Regions from separate parts of the Homo sapiens genome. Here regions 1, 3, 4 and 5 are each linked to region 2. Evidence: promoter capture Hi-C in 16 types of primary human blood cells and fetal thymus (Javierre and others, 2016). All regions are on one chromosome and are shown on one strand. The core of a region is centred on a gene start or on the middle of the fragment in contact, and the rest is flanking DNA. Distances in the headings are between cores, read along the strand shown.

The links. Contacts are between HindIII fragments. The CHiCAGO score rates a contact against its expected background, and 5 or more counts as called.
Region 1: a contact is called between a fragment that was not itself captured here and the fragment with the promoter of MIS18BP1 in region 2, in 2 of 17 cell types (neutrophils and monocytes). The highest score is 6.5, in neutrophils.
Region 3: a fragment that was not itself captured here is called in contact with the fragment with the promoter of MIS18BP1 in region 2 in 4 of 17 cell types (monocytes, neutrophils, total CD4 T cells and 1 more); the score reaches 10.0 in monocytes.
Region 4: a contact is called between a fragment that was not itself captured here and the fragment with the promoter of MIS18BP1 in region 2, in 1 of 17 cell types (monocytes). The highest score is 6.3, in monocytes.
Region 5: a contact is called between a fragment that was not itself captured here and the fragment with the promoter of MIS18BP1 in region 2, in 4 of 17 cell types (total B cells, activated CD4 T cells, monocytes and 1 more). The highest score is 5.5, in total B cells.

Annotation. Positions count from the first base shown.
Region 1 is chr14:45,001,359-45,004,058 of GRCh38, forward strand. The region is part of intron 3 of TOGARAM1 (TOG array regulator of axonemal microtubules 1); the gene reads left to right. Among named protein-coding and RNA genes, the nearest start is that of TOGARAM1, 41 kb to the left of the region's middle. The HindIII fragment of the contact is 2,578 bases long and covers 65-2,642 here.
Region 2 is chr14:45,251,758-45,254,457 of GRCh38, forward strand. It overlaps MIS18BP1 (MIS18 binding protein 1), which reads right to left and starts at 1,445. Exons shown (of 17, transcript NM_018353.5): 1 at 1,278-1,445. LOC107984674 (a long non-coding RNA gene) reads left to right here and starts at 1,534. Exons shown (of 4, transcript XR_001750746.2): 1 at 1,534-1,884. RefSeq lists enhancers at 1,414-1,473, 1,574-1,753, 1,663-2,612, 1,774-1,963, 2,034-2,093. The HindIII fragment of the contact is 13,340 bases long and covers 1-2,700 here.
Region 3 is chr14:45,067,850-45,070,549 of GRCh38, forward strand. TOGARAM1 (TOG array regulator of axonemal microtubules 1) reads left to right here. Exons shown (of 20, transcript NM_001308120.2): 18 at 575-794. Among named protein-coding and RNA genes, the nearest start is that of PRPF39-DT, 15 kb to the right of the region's middle. The HindIII fragment of the contact is 4,259 bases long and covers 1-2,700 here.
Region 4 is chr14:45,024,181-45,026,880 of GRCh38, forward strand. TOGARAM1 (TOG array regulator of axonemal microtubules 1) reads left to right here. Exons shown (of 20, transcript NM_001308120.2): 8 at 1,603-1,692. Among named protein-coding and RNA genes, the nearest start is that of PRPF39-DT, 58 kb to the right of the region's middle. The HindIII fragment of the contact is 3,823 bases long and covers 1-2,700 here.
Region 5 is chr14:45,050,669-45,053,368 of GRCh38, forward strand. It overlaps TOGARAM1 (TOG array regulator of axonemal microtubules 1), which reads left to right. Exons shown (of 20, transcript NM_001308120.2): 15 at 1,768-1,894. Among named protein-coding and RNA genes, the nearest start is that of PRPF39-DT, 32 kb to the right of the region's middle. The HindIII fragment of the contact is 1,138 bases long and covers 799-1,936 here.

The DNA of each region.
Region 1 (2,700 bases), core at 104-2,603, 250 kb before region 2:
TAAGACCTCAAAAGCACAGGTGACCAAAGCAAAAATGAACAAATGGGATCACATTTAGCTAAAAAGCTTCTGCATGGCAAAGGAAACAGTCAACAAAGTGAAGATACAGCTTACAGAATGGGAGAAAATATTTGCAAACGATTCCACTGTTGAGGGATCAATAACCAGAATATATAAGGAACTCAAACAATTCAATAGCAAAAAAACAAAAATACAATGTGAAAATGGGCAAAAGATCTGAGTAGGCATTTCTCAAAGAAGACATATACATGTCTAATAGGTATATGAAAAGCTCAACATCACTAATCATCAGAAAGATGAGCATTTTAATACCAAGTCATTGAAAATAACATTATCCATTAAAGAGTGTTGTGTTAGCAGATGACAATTATTTTCCGTAACAGTTTTAAATTTTAAGACAATTTAGAATGTATTATGTCTCTTATTAGGAACCGTAACTTCCTAAAAGCTACCCTTTCAGATAAGACATAAGATACAGAAGAGGAAAGATTGGAGACCGGTTATCAGTCAGGAATTTGGGGGTTGAAGGTGTTCTTAAATGTCCATGCTAATTAACAGCTTTAACAATTATTAGATAGAGGTAGGATCAAATTAAGTATTTCTTTAGGTATTTTAAATTTTATTGTATGTCCTTTACTAAAATTTGAGTGATAGGGATATACTTATTTATTTATGAAAAAATAATGATTTGAAATTAGTAGAGAAGATTTCGTGTATTTAGCACTAACATTTTAACTACCCTTTTTTGCACTCACCCCAAAGACCCACATAACTCCTTAAAGATATCCTTTGTGGTATTATCTGCATCACAAAATAATCCATCTTTCTTAATAATGTGGGTATTTCCTAAATTTTGACTCCTGAGTATCTTTGGGACTCATAATTGGTATAATCAGAGAGAGCTTGCTGTGCCACTTAACCTGTTCCTGTTTAGGCTATCCCTGAATAATTACATTGCCTTTGAGGACTATCCACTCTTAGTGTTTAGTCATATTGCACAGTGGCTCTCTGGTTTTCTATTGGAATAGTTATTAGAGAAGCTGGTATAAAGGGATACCACGTTTTTCTAGAATTTAACTTAATACTTGGTTATACATTAAAACCACTACCATCTCAATTAATATTCCCCTTGTGATCTTTGAAGGACCTATGGTATGGATGCAAAACAATATAGATGTTTGCATCCCAATTTACATATTGTAGTGATCCACACCAGGTGTTGGAAATTTTGGTGTATGTTGCATTGCATTGTTTTTATGTATATGCATAGTATGATAGGATGTTTGATTTCTTCATAAGAAATATTTTTAAATCTCGGCTGTGTGCGGTGGCTCACGCCTGTAATCCTAGTGCTTTGGGAGGCCAAGGTGGGTGGATCATGAGGTCAAGAGATTGAGACCATCCTGGCTAACACGGTGAAACCCCGTCTCTACTAAAAATTACAAAAAAACTAGCCGGACATGGTGGCGGGCACCTATCATCCCAGCTACTCGGGAGGCTGAAGCAGGAGAATGGTGTGAACCCGGGAGGCAGAGCTTGCAGTGAGCTGAGATCGTGCCACTGCACTCCAGCCTGGGCGACAGAGCGAGACTCCATCTCAAAAAAAAATAGAAAGGAAATATTTTTAAATCTCTAGGAATATATGAGACATTGTCATGAAAGCATCAGAACCTGTTAATAGAGCACTGTAATTGAAATGAGGAAACTGAAAGTTTTAATTCTATATGTAAATCTGTGACTAAATCTCCTATATCTCTCTACCTAGATAAGATTTTGGTATAAGTAGAGATTTTAACCATGTCAGATATGAATTAAAAAAATAAAGGATATATAATATATACAGTTGTTTAAGTCCTCAGAAGAATGTTTGCTTTATTAATATACGTACGCTAGGTATTTTGTCACGGAAAACATTTTTTAAAATATTAAAGGAAAACTTAAGGGAACCCCTAAAAGATTACAAATAGACTTTTTATATTCGTTGAAGAATAAAAAGATCAATAAAAGGCAAGGAAGAAGTAATAAAGAAAAAAATAATAAATAGTACAAAATAAGATGGTAGAATTAAAATCAAATGTATGAATAGTTTCCGTAAGTATAAATTGGCAGAACTTACAACTTAAATGACAGAGGTGATCAGATCTTGTTTTTTTAGTTTTTCATTGAAGTGATCTTTTTAAGAGCATTACCTAAAATACATCAAGATAGGTTGAGAGAAAGTAAAGCATGGAAAAGATACACTAGGCAAATGTTCAGAGAAAAGCAAATAGAAACATGTTGATGATAGGGAAAATATGCACACCAAAACTAAAAACATTTTTAGTTCTAGAGAGGATCATTGTAATGAGAAAAAGAATAATTCACTAAAGAAACAAGACTTCTCTGACATGTGTGTATATGTATACATATACATGCATGTATGTATGTAATTGATAAAATTACAAGGAGAAAGTTAATTTATAAATGTTAGTACAATATTTTAATGGGATAAAGAAGTTTTGAATTAGAAGATACAGAATATTTGAATAACACAAATTAAATTAGTCCTTTACCTCATACCATACAAAAATATACATGCCAATTGGGATGAAAACCTGAATGGGAAAAGCAAAAAGCAAAAAAGCTTTTAACTGTTAAACTGTGTATACATAAATAATATATTATCTTTTGTTTTATTAC
Region 2 (2,700 bases), core at 195-2,694:
TACAAAAGGCCAATAAACGAGTTGTGACACCTGATTTTACTAATAAATGGAGATGCAAACTAAAACAGTGAGATTTCTTTTTCATATCACATTGGTAAATATTAATTTCAAAATGCAAGTATGCATACTATTGACACGGAAATTCCACTTCTAACTTGTTTTTTCCTATAGAAACATCTGCGTAAGAATGCAAATATATATGTACCATAATTGCCGATATTTACTGAATATTTACATGCCAGCCACTATATAATCTAACAGCAACTCTAAAGAGTTAAGTACTGTTATTACTCCCAATTTGAAAAAAGAGAAATTAAGGTATAAGGTGGTTAAGTAAGCTGCCCAAGGTCACTTGACAATAAGTGAGAAAGAGGAACCGATTCTACCCGACTCCATAGCTTCAGTTATTTACCAACAGGCAACAGTCTACACACCCACTACACAGGGAAGTTCACTGCAGCATAAAATGAAATGAAACAACCCAGATGTCTACCAATAAAGGACAAAATAAATCCCGCCACATCCATACAATTTACTCTATGTATTCAATAAAAAGATATATATGTACTTATATGGAAAAGTATCCAAGAAACATTAAATTGAAAAAGAAAGTAACAACATAGAATTGCATTTGTTTAAAAAAATTTTTAAGTAAATAAATAAAACACATACAGGCATAGAGAAAAACTCTGGAAGCGGTGAACCAAATTGTAAACAGTGTTTATCTTTGAAGGCCAGGATGAAGTGGCCTACCATTTTCTTGAACTCCTGAGCTCAAAAGATCCACCCGCCTCGGCCTCCCAAAGTGTGGGATCACAGGCGTGTGCCACCGCGCCCGACCATTTTCTAAATAATTTTATTAACATCTAAAGATGTTTGCAACAAGCATGCAATTTAACCAGAAGAAAACATAAGCTGAATGATCAACTGCTTCTATAGCCCTGTGGGTCCTGGGGTCCCAAGGGGAAGAGTTGGGTACTGAGGAATACAATTTTCCCACTTGGTATTCTAAAAAAAAAAAAAAAAAATTTATTTTAGAACAAAGACCTAGAACGCTCACCATCGAAATAAATTTGAGCAATCGTGTTCTACTCTCTTAAGTACAGTAGACACGCAACAAGTAAACATCGAGTGCGAAGTATAAAATCCGTACCAAAGCCAGAAATCTACAAAAAAAATAAATAAAACCGCGTGAGCCGAGATGCTTAAAGGGCAGACGCCCACCATCTGCGGGGACCCGCGGTAGGAGGTTAGCGGAGGGCGCGGGGAGGACGTACCTTGGATGAAGAGCCTGGCAGGGAGAGACTGCCGCAGTTCCGGCTCGGCTCCGCGCGGAGAGAGGGCCGCACGCCGCCGGGCTCGCGCCTCAGGCCCACGGTGTATCCTGCCCGCGGCGGCCAGGCGCCAAGCGACGCTTACCTCCTCCGCGACGTTCTCTAACACACAAAACACTTCCGCAATTCAAATTTGAAGAGCCCGCCCTCCAGCCAGCCCGGGATTGGCACGCTCGGGAATTGCGCCACCGTGCGTCTCACAGGGACGCAAGAAAACTGCAGGCGGCCTCTGCACTCCGTGGACGGCAGTGTGTCCACAAAAAGTAGGCGACCCTAAGCTGTCACAGGCAGGGGGCGAGCTCCTCTAGTTGTCTTCAAAGTTCGTTTCGTCTTCGTAGGGCACGCGCCCACCCTGAATCCCGCCTTTCCTCTCGTGAAGCTCTGCCGGGACAAGGCTGACGTGGGACGACGTGGGACGCCGTGGGCCGCGAGCACGCCCCGGCACTACTGCGGCTAAGTTTGGCCTTTCCTGGTTGCCGTCCTCCCCTACAGGCTGTGCGCCGTAGCGGCTGTTATCCTTCTTTTCCGTCTCAGGAAAACAGCGTGCTTGGTGGGTTTGAGAGAACTTCTGTTTTTCTGTCCTCCATGTTTGAGGCGGAGAAAGAACATTTTGTTCTTGAGGTGATGATGGATTGAATGTAAAGTTACGCACAAAGTGGGATGTTTAGTTGGAACTGTTCCCTCAGGAAATACGATTTTTTGGGCGTGGGGGACAGGGTTTCGCTCTGTCGCCTAGGCCTGAGTGCAGTGGCGCAATAACGGCTCACTGCAGTCTGGAACTCCAAGGGATCTTCCCACCTCAGCCTCCGAGTAGCTGGAACTACAGGCGCGCGCGACCATGCTTGGCTTATTTTTATTTTGTAGAGAGGAGGTCTCACCATGTTGCCCAGCCTAGTCTGGAACTCCTGGGTTCAAGCGATCCTCCATCTCGGCCTCCCAAAGTGCCAGGATTACAGGCAACCGCACCGAGCCAGGAAGTGATTAATTTTTTTTTAAGTCACTTCACATTCCAGAAACATTAATCTCGACAACTCTAGGTTGCTGTAAGCAGCTTGTGACGGTGGCCCCCAGACTGCGTCCCGCTTTAGACTGCACCCAGTGAATCTCCACTCTAACCACCGCGGAGTGACCGGGTGTATTCTTCGCCTTGTATAGGGCACATTGGTTCAGTCTTGAAAGTAGAGAAGGGGAAGCCAGGGTAGTAAGGTGTGTTCTCAGCCCTGAACCCTGTCCAACTCCAGTCCTGCATGAAGTCTGTCCTCTTCCCCCCATCCGCATTTGTGACAACAGAGCTTCTTTTTATTTTATACTTCCATCTAAGAAAATTAGTCAACTTCTAGTCACATACCACATTTCCCCATTAAGA
Region 3 (2,700 bases), core at 154-2,653, 180 kb before region 2:
TCACTTTATTATATCTTGAGTTTATGAAAGTTAAGGATTCTGAAGAGCAAGGAATTATTGTTAAAAGTTTTCAGGTTAAGAGATAATAATACAAATTTAACTCTGAAATTGCATCTAAAATTTTCATAATAAACCTAAACTGAAACTAGGTTAAATCTCCACAGTAAAACTTACAAGTCTACTTCTAGTGTGAAAAGAGATAAAAACAGAAACTTTTCTAAGTTCTTAGAGTTAGCTAAGCTAACCTCCATCTTCCAGAAAACAAGATGTTTATCATATTTACAGTCAGTCAGTCAGTCATCTGCCTACTGAGCCACATTTTTCAGCCTTTATTAGGATGTCTTTTGGGGTGATTTTTGAGGCCTTCTCTTTTTGTTACAAGAAGATTTGACACTTAGATTTAGTACCCAAATTTTTATAAAGTTCCTGTTATCCAAGTTCAGGCAAAATAGGATGTTGTGTATATATTTAAACTGAGTAAAGTAGGAGAAATATTATGACATGCCAAGATACTTATAAATACAATAGCTATAAAAATCATTTTACTTTAAATAATTTACCAATTTATTTTCAGATTTTTGATGCTTTTAAATCTCGACTTCATGATTCTAATAGTAAAGTAAATCTGGTGGCTCTGGAAACAATGCACAAAATGATTCCTCTACTTAGAGACCACTTATCTCCTATAATCAACATGCTAATTCCAGCAATAGTGGATAACAATCTGAATTCCAAGAATCCAGGCATCTATGCGGCTGCTACAAATGTTGTTCAGGCACTGAGTCAGCATGTAGGTAAGAAATCTTACTTCGGCACTCAAATTATTTTCACTTTCTTTTCATGTTTTCTGATTCCATCCATACTTTTTTTGTAATGCTGAAATCCTAGTTATTCAGTTTTTTAAACTTAATATTATCATAAAACTTTCTATTCTCAATGGTTTTAAAATTATTTTTAGTGATTAAATTCTGTCCCATTAAATTGACTTTCTTTTCCCTTATCTGTGACTTTTATTTCTTTTTCTGCCTCAACCTCACATCTGCTAACAAAACTAACTCAATACTTCGGCATGAGATGATCCAGAAATAAAATAAAGAAAAAAATATAAAAATAAGAAAATAATAATAAATAAACTAACTCAAAATGGATCGTAGAGTTAAATGTACAACTTAAATGTAAAACTTTTAGAAGATAACATGAGAAAATCTTAGGACTTGGTGAAAAGTTTTACATATGGCACTAAAAGCATGATCCTATAATCTCAGCCCTTTGGGGTTGATCTGCCAAGGTGGGCAGATCACCTGAGGTTGGGAGTTCAAGACCATCCTGGCTAATATAGTGAAACCCCATCTCTACTATAAATACAAAAATTAGCTGGGTGTGGTGGTGCGTGCCTGTAATCCCAGCTACCCTGGAAGCTGAGGCAGGAGAATCGCTTGAACCCAGGAGGTGGAGGTTGCAGTGAGCCAAGATTGTACCACTGCACTGCAGCCTGGGCAGCAGAGTGAGACTCTGTATCAAAAAATTTTAAAAAATTAAAAAAAAATAGATAAAGGGACAAGCTACAGACTGGGAAAAATATTTTCAAACCGCATATTTGACAAAGAACTCATACCTAGAATATGTAAAGAAATCTCAAAGCTCAACATAAAAAAAAACTCAAATAAAAAAATAGACAAAAGACCTGAAAAAATATTTAAACCATGAGGCTATACGGATGGCAAATAAGGGAGGATGTGTGACTGGTCAAATAAGCAAGTGAAAAGATGTTCAACATCACTAGCCATCCGGGAAATGCATATGCAAGTTAAGGCCATGATCACCACACAAGTATTAGAACATCCAAAATAAAAAATAGTGACAATACAAAATGCTGACAAGATTACAGAGAAACTACATCTCATACACAGCTGGTGAGAATGTAAATAAAATGGTACAGCCACTCTAGGTTTGGCAGTTTCTTTAAAATCTAAATATACCATGGAATACTACTTAATAAAAAAGAACAAAATATTAGGAACATGAAACAAATTTGTATAAAAAGATTATTCGGCCAGGCACAGTGGCTCACACCTGTAATTGCAGCACTTTGGGAGGCCGAGGCAGGCAGATCACGAGGTCAGGAGATCGAGACCATCCTGGCTAACATGGTGAAACCCCGTCTCTACTAAAAATACAAAAAATTAGCCGGGCGTGGTGGCAGGTGCCTGTAGTCCCAGCTACTTGGGAGGCTGAGGCAGGAGAATGGCATGAACCCGGGAGGTGGAGCTTGCAGTGAACCAAGATCACGCCACTGCACTTCAGCCTGGATGACAGAGTGAGACTCCATCTCAAAAAAAAGAAAAAAAAGATTATCCGTCATGTCCACGTGGAATTTATCCCAGGGATGCAAGGATGGTTCAACATATGCAAATGGATGGTTCTTAAGTATTTTTCATCAGGTTTACTATAATACCATAAAACTTGAGTGACACCATCAGACCTATATGAAGTGCCACTAGTGATGCTGGAAGTGCTCCCAATAAGCAGGGGAAAGTCATGACATGATAAATTTGAATTGCTTGATATCTGAGTAGCTTGAGGTCTGCAGCTGTGGTTGCTCACCATTTCAGACAGATGACTAATCTTGTAAACAGATGACATAAATTTGCATTATTGACAAATACAATACTGTAAATTTATTTTTCTTCTCTCTCCTAA
Region 4 (2,700 bases), core at 167-2,666, 230 kb before region 2:
AGGTGCCCTTTCCTAGTTGTAATGGTCCATATCATGTCTGCTGTCTCAATTAATAACTTGAGAAAGTGGAGGGTGCTTGAAGTATTAGCAAACTAGATTCCATGATTTACTATTTACTCTTTTGATATTTGAATTAGATGGAAGTATTATAACAAAGAAAAAATATATAATGATATTTGTGTGTGAAGAAGCCTTTAAACATATTTTCTATATATTTTAGAATTGAGACTTAATGAACAATATTTCTTTCAACATTTCTTTAAGAAAAATATAGTGTAAAACATAAAAATATATTAAAAATGATTAATGACAGCTTCTCTTATAAATGAAGTTAAACTCATTGGAGATAACATGTCTTTTATATTTTTTTGATGAGATTTGTCTGATCATTCGTCTCTTGATAGTTTATGTATAGATTTTATGTTTATGTGGACTGTTGAGCAAATTATTCCATTTACTGAGATTTTTTTCTCTTTGTCACAGAACACGTTTTTGGGCTAACCCGTGTTTCTGTTAGTTGATGTGTGTACTAATTTTGATTGCATACTAAAGAAGAAATACATGAAAAATGATCACTTACATGGATTTCTTTCTTTAATCTTTGCCATTTTCACATAAAGCCAGGTTACTATTAGCATTAGCAGTTGACAAAACAATCTATCTGCTGCTTAATTTTTAAAAATCAATTATTTGATTGACTTTATCACTGTTTAACTGCTTTTCTTTCATAAAACCTAAAGCAATACATATTTCTCTTTTCTTTTTTTGCCTTGATACATTCATCTAACATATATTTATGGAATACCTGGTATGTGCCAAACACTATATTAGGCTCTGGGAAAGAATAATCATCAAAACTAGACATAGATCCTATCCCCATGGAACTTACAGTCTAGTAGGATTGTAAATAAAGAATCAGAAACTAAGATAAAAGTTAACCTAGAAAAGCACAGATTGCTGTGACATTGACCTGATCTGTTTTCTGATGTCAGAGGATTTTCTTTTTGATGACCCTTTTGTTGCCTGATTATCATGCTGTGATAAGTCGCTTGTATGCCTCTCACACCTCACCCTGACATGTAAACTCCTTAAGGAAAGGAAGGGGCCAGGCATGGTGGCTCATGCCTGTAATACCAGCACTTTGGGAGGCCGAGGCAGGCGGATCATGAGGTCAGGAGGTCGAGATCAGCCTGACCAAAATGGTGAAACCCCATCTCTACTAAAAATACAAAAATGAGCTGAGCATGGTGGTGCGTACCTGTAATCCCAGCTACTCAGGAGGCTGAGGCAGGAGAATCGCTTGAACCCAGGAGGTGGAGGTAGCAGTGAGCCAAGATCACACCACTGCATTCCAGCCTGGGCGACAGAGCGAGACTCCATCTCAAAAAAAAAAAAAAAAGGAAAGGAAGGTTTAAGTGCCTAGTCCATTCTAGTATTGCAGTTACAAACATTTATAATGACTTAATGAACGTGTGAATAAATTGTAAATTCTTTGTATGAAATAAATTTTCAGTTTTAAAAGACTATGTTACAATATCCTAAGATACTACATAATAAGCAAATATGTTTAAGTATTTGTTTTGTTTTTTGGGGGATTTACAGGGTCATCATCAAATCCACAGCAAATTTCCAGTTTTGACTTCACAACCACAAAGGCTTTATCAGAAGACTCAGTAGTAGTTGTTGGAAAAGGTATTTCAAAGTTATTTCGCTTCTTAATTATATGTATTCATCATATAGAAGCAAAGCCTATCAATAAGGAATAGAAAAGAATGTGATTCAAGTGTTGAGTGGAACTTCTTTTTAAAAATGTATTACATTATCTTCATTAAAATAATTAGAAGTGAATACTTACCTTCACATTTCTATCTTCTAATGAAACTATAGTAAATTCATGTCATTAATTTTCAGAGAGATGTATTATGTGACAGCTGCAGTTTAGGTACTTCTAAGACTATTTTAGGATAGCTTACTTAGTTTTAGCATAGTTTAAATTCAAGTAGCCCTTATTTATCAGCGTAATAATCAATATAAATTAATATAATTATCTCCCATACAAGATCTAGACAAGTGAAAATTAAACTCCTGTTATATATTTTAAGGGGGCTAAGGGACCTTGAACAAAATTATTGCAAGTATCCTTTAAAGCTATTTTCTATTTTAATTGAAAACTAGAATGTGGTAATATACATTGAGGGTATGCATCTTATTTTTGTTCAATATAATGAAATAGAATAAACGTTTTGAAAAATTTGTCCTAACTTCTTTGCTTGATAGTCTCATTAGGTTATTTTAAAACCCTCCTCAGATTGGCTACAGCTTACTCTTGTAAACTTATTTTCTGTTATTCCTTTATTTGCCCGGCCAAGCTCATTTATTCGCTCCACATAAATGCTTTAGAAACTTTCAACTCTGCATGTAAACATCCCCATCTCATAGATTTCCCCCTCTCCTTCTTTACTTTATACAGATCCTTCCTGTCTTCAAATCCCAGCTCAAATCCTTGCTCCTTGAAACCATCTTAAACACCCAGCTCTGCCAGGTGCAGTGGCTCACTCCTGTAATCCCATTCTTTGGGAGGCCCAGGCGGGCAGATCACTTGAACTCAAGAGTTCAAGACCAGCCTGGACAACATGGCAAAACCCCATCTCTACCAAAAAAAAAAAAAATACAAAAAATTGGGCAGGCCTGGTGCTGTGC
Region 5 (2,700 bases), core at 118-2,617, 200 kb before region 2:
CAGTGGTGCAATCTCAGTTCACTGCAACCTCCACCTCCCAGGTTCAAGCGATTCTCATGCCTCAGCCTCCTGAGTTGCTGGGATTACAGGCATGTGCCACCATGCCTGGCTGATTTTTGTATTTTTAGTAGACACTGGGTTTCACCATGTTGGCCAGGCTAGTCTCTAACTCCTGGCCTCAGGTGATCCACCTGCCTTGGCCTCCCAAAGTGCTGGGATTACAGGTGTGAGCCACCACGCCCAGCCTCTTCTCTGGTTCTTTTTGTGCCATATATTCCAAGTTGTGAGTAAAAGTGTAACTGTGATTTATTTTAGGGCCCGGCCTCATTGAAGATGAATAGTGTGGTACTATTTTGAAGTAGTATAAGACATCTGTGTGCTAAAATATCTCCAGTATGCACTTCCATGATATCTGAATTTCCACCATTAGAATCATTGGGCTTAAAGTATTATGCTAAGATGATTATTTTATAATTCATATAAATAAGAAAACCTAGTTTTTGAGATTATTACCTGTATTAACATATCAGTCACAATTTTATCAACTAACCTTGGGTGTATTTTAGGTAGTAAAGAATAGGATTCTGAAGAATCAGAACCCTGGTAAGTTTTGGCTAGGGAAAAACAGAGAATGAGAAATACAGGACCTAGGGAGGGTTGACTCAGGCCAGAACATCTGGCCCTTAGGTGGACAGCAAATGGTCAATGGGCAAGGAGCCCAGGATGGAGGAAAACTTCACAATTCTCCCAAATGCCAGCATTGATATGGACCTTGGGGTGCCTGAAAAATAGAATCAAAGCTTTTGTCTCTCCATCTGGCACATGGCAGAAGGATTTGAAGACAGTGACTTTAAAGGGGGATTATGGGAGCATCCCAACAGATGCTTTTTTTTTTTTTTTTTTTTTTTTGAGACGCAGTCTCACTCTGTTGCCCAGGCTGGAGTGCAATGGTGTGATCTCGGCTCACTGCAACCTCCACCTCCTGGATTCAAATGATTTTCCTGCCTCAGTCTCCTGAATAACTGGGATTACCTGAGCACGCCAACACATCTGGCTAATTTTTGTATTTTTTTAGGAGAGACGGGGTTTCATCATGTTGGCCAGGCTGATCTCGAACTCCTGACCTTGTGATCCACCTGCCTTGGCCTCCCAAAGTGCTGGGATTACAGGCGTGAGCCACTGTACCTGGCCACAGATGCTTCTTAACTTACAATGAGGTTATATCCCAATAAACCCATCATGAATAGGAATTATCATAAGCCAAAAGTGCATTTAAACACCTAACCTACCAAACATCATAATGTAGCCAAGCCTTACCTTAAACATGCTGAGAACACTTACATTAGCCTACGCTTAGACAGAATCATCTGGCAACACAGTACATTGTAGAGTATGGTGATCATATGGCTGAGTGGGAGCTGTGGCTCGCTGCTGCTGCCCAGCATCTTAAAAGAGTGTCATACTGCATATGACTAGCCATGGAAAAAGTCAAAATTCAAAGTATGGTTTCCACAGAATCATATCTCTTTCACACTATTATAAAGTTGAAAAATTATAAGTCAAACCGTTGTAAGTCGGAGACCATCTGTACCCTCTAGGGTATCCTATACAGTTAGGATATCTATATTTTCATGGTTATTTAATATAGGGATGGTAATCTTGATGTTTGATAGGTGTTTTTTTTCTATTGAAACAATGCATCTAAGGTCAGCAACTGAGCTTATTAATGTCTAAAAAGTAATATACCTGTTTTTCAAATACTCACAGGTATTATGGTCGAAAGATGCTGTTCTTCATGATGTGTCATCCTAACTTTGAAAAAATGCTTGAAAAGTATGTCCCATCTAAAGATTTGCCATATATTAAGGACTCTGTTAGAAACTTACAGCAAAAGGTATGTGGGAAAAGTTTGTTTTATAAACAGCTTTATAAGCAAAGCTTGTTTTTACATCCAGGTAAAGGATAGGAATAATTATTTATTTGATTATTTCTCTGTTAATCATTTGGACTATTGGACTATATCTGCAATAGCATTTCAACAATTACAATACTAAGTAGACATACATATTGTCAAGCCTTGGAAGTAAATGTTTATTGCACAGAAGCTTGATGTTTGGTAGAATATAGTTTGGCTTATTGGAGTTAACAAGACATGGGTTTGAATTGCAGCTCTAACAGTTAGCAACTGTGTAACTTACACATGCCTCTTCATTTCTCTAACTAGAATTCTCACTTTATAAAATGAGGATAATAATGTTTACCATGTTTAGTCCCTGCTTTATTTACCTTGCATGTCCCACTATTAGAGCTATTACCACACTGCAGAACATTTTTAGGGAGCTCCTTGAGGGTAAGTGCAATGTCTTTTTTTTTTTTTTTTTTTTCTTTTGAGACAGAGTCTTGCTGTGCCACTAGGCTAGAGTGCAGTGGTGTGATCTCGGCTCACTACAACCTCCACCTCTTGGGTTCAAGCGATTCTCCTGCCTCAGCCTCTCGAGTAGCTGGGATTACAGGTGCCCACCACCACGCCCAACTAATTTTTTGTATTTTTTAGTAGAGACGGGGTTTCACCATGTTGGCCAGGCTTGTCTTGAACTCCTGACCTCAGGTGATCCGCCTGACTCGGCCTCCCAAAGTGCTGGGATTACAGGCGAGAGCCAATGCGCCCAGCCATGCCATGTCTTATTTGTCCTGGTAGAT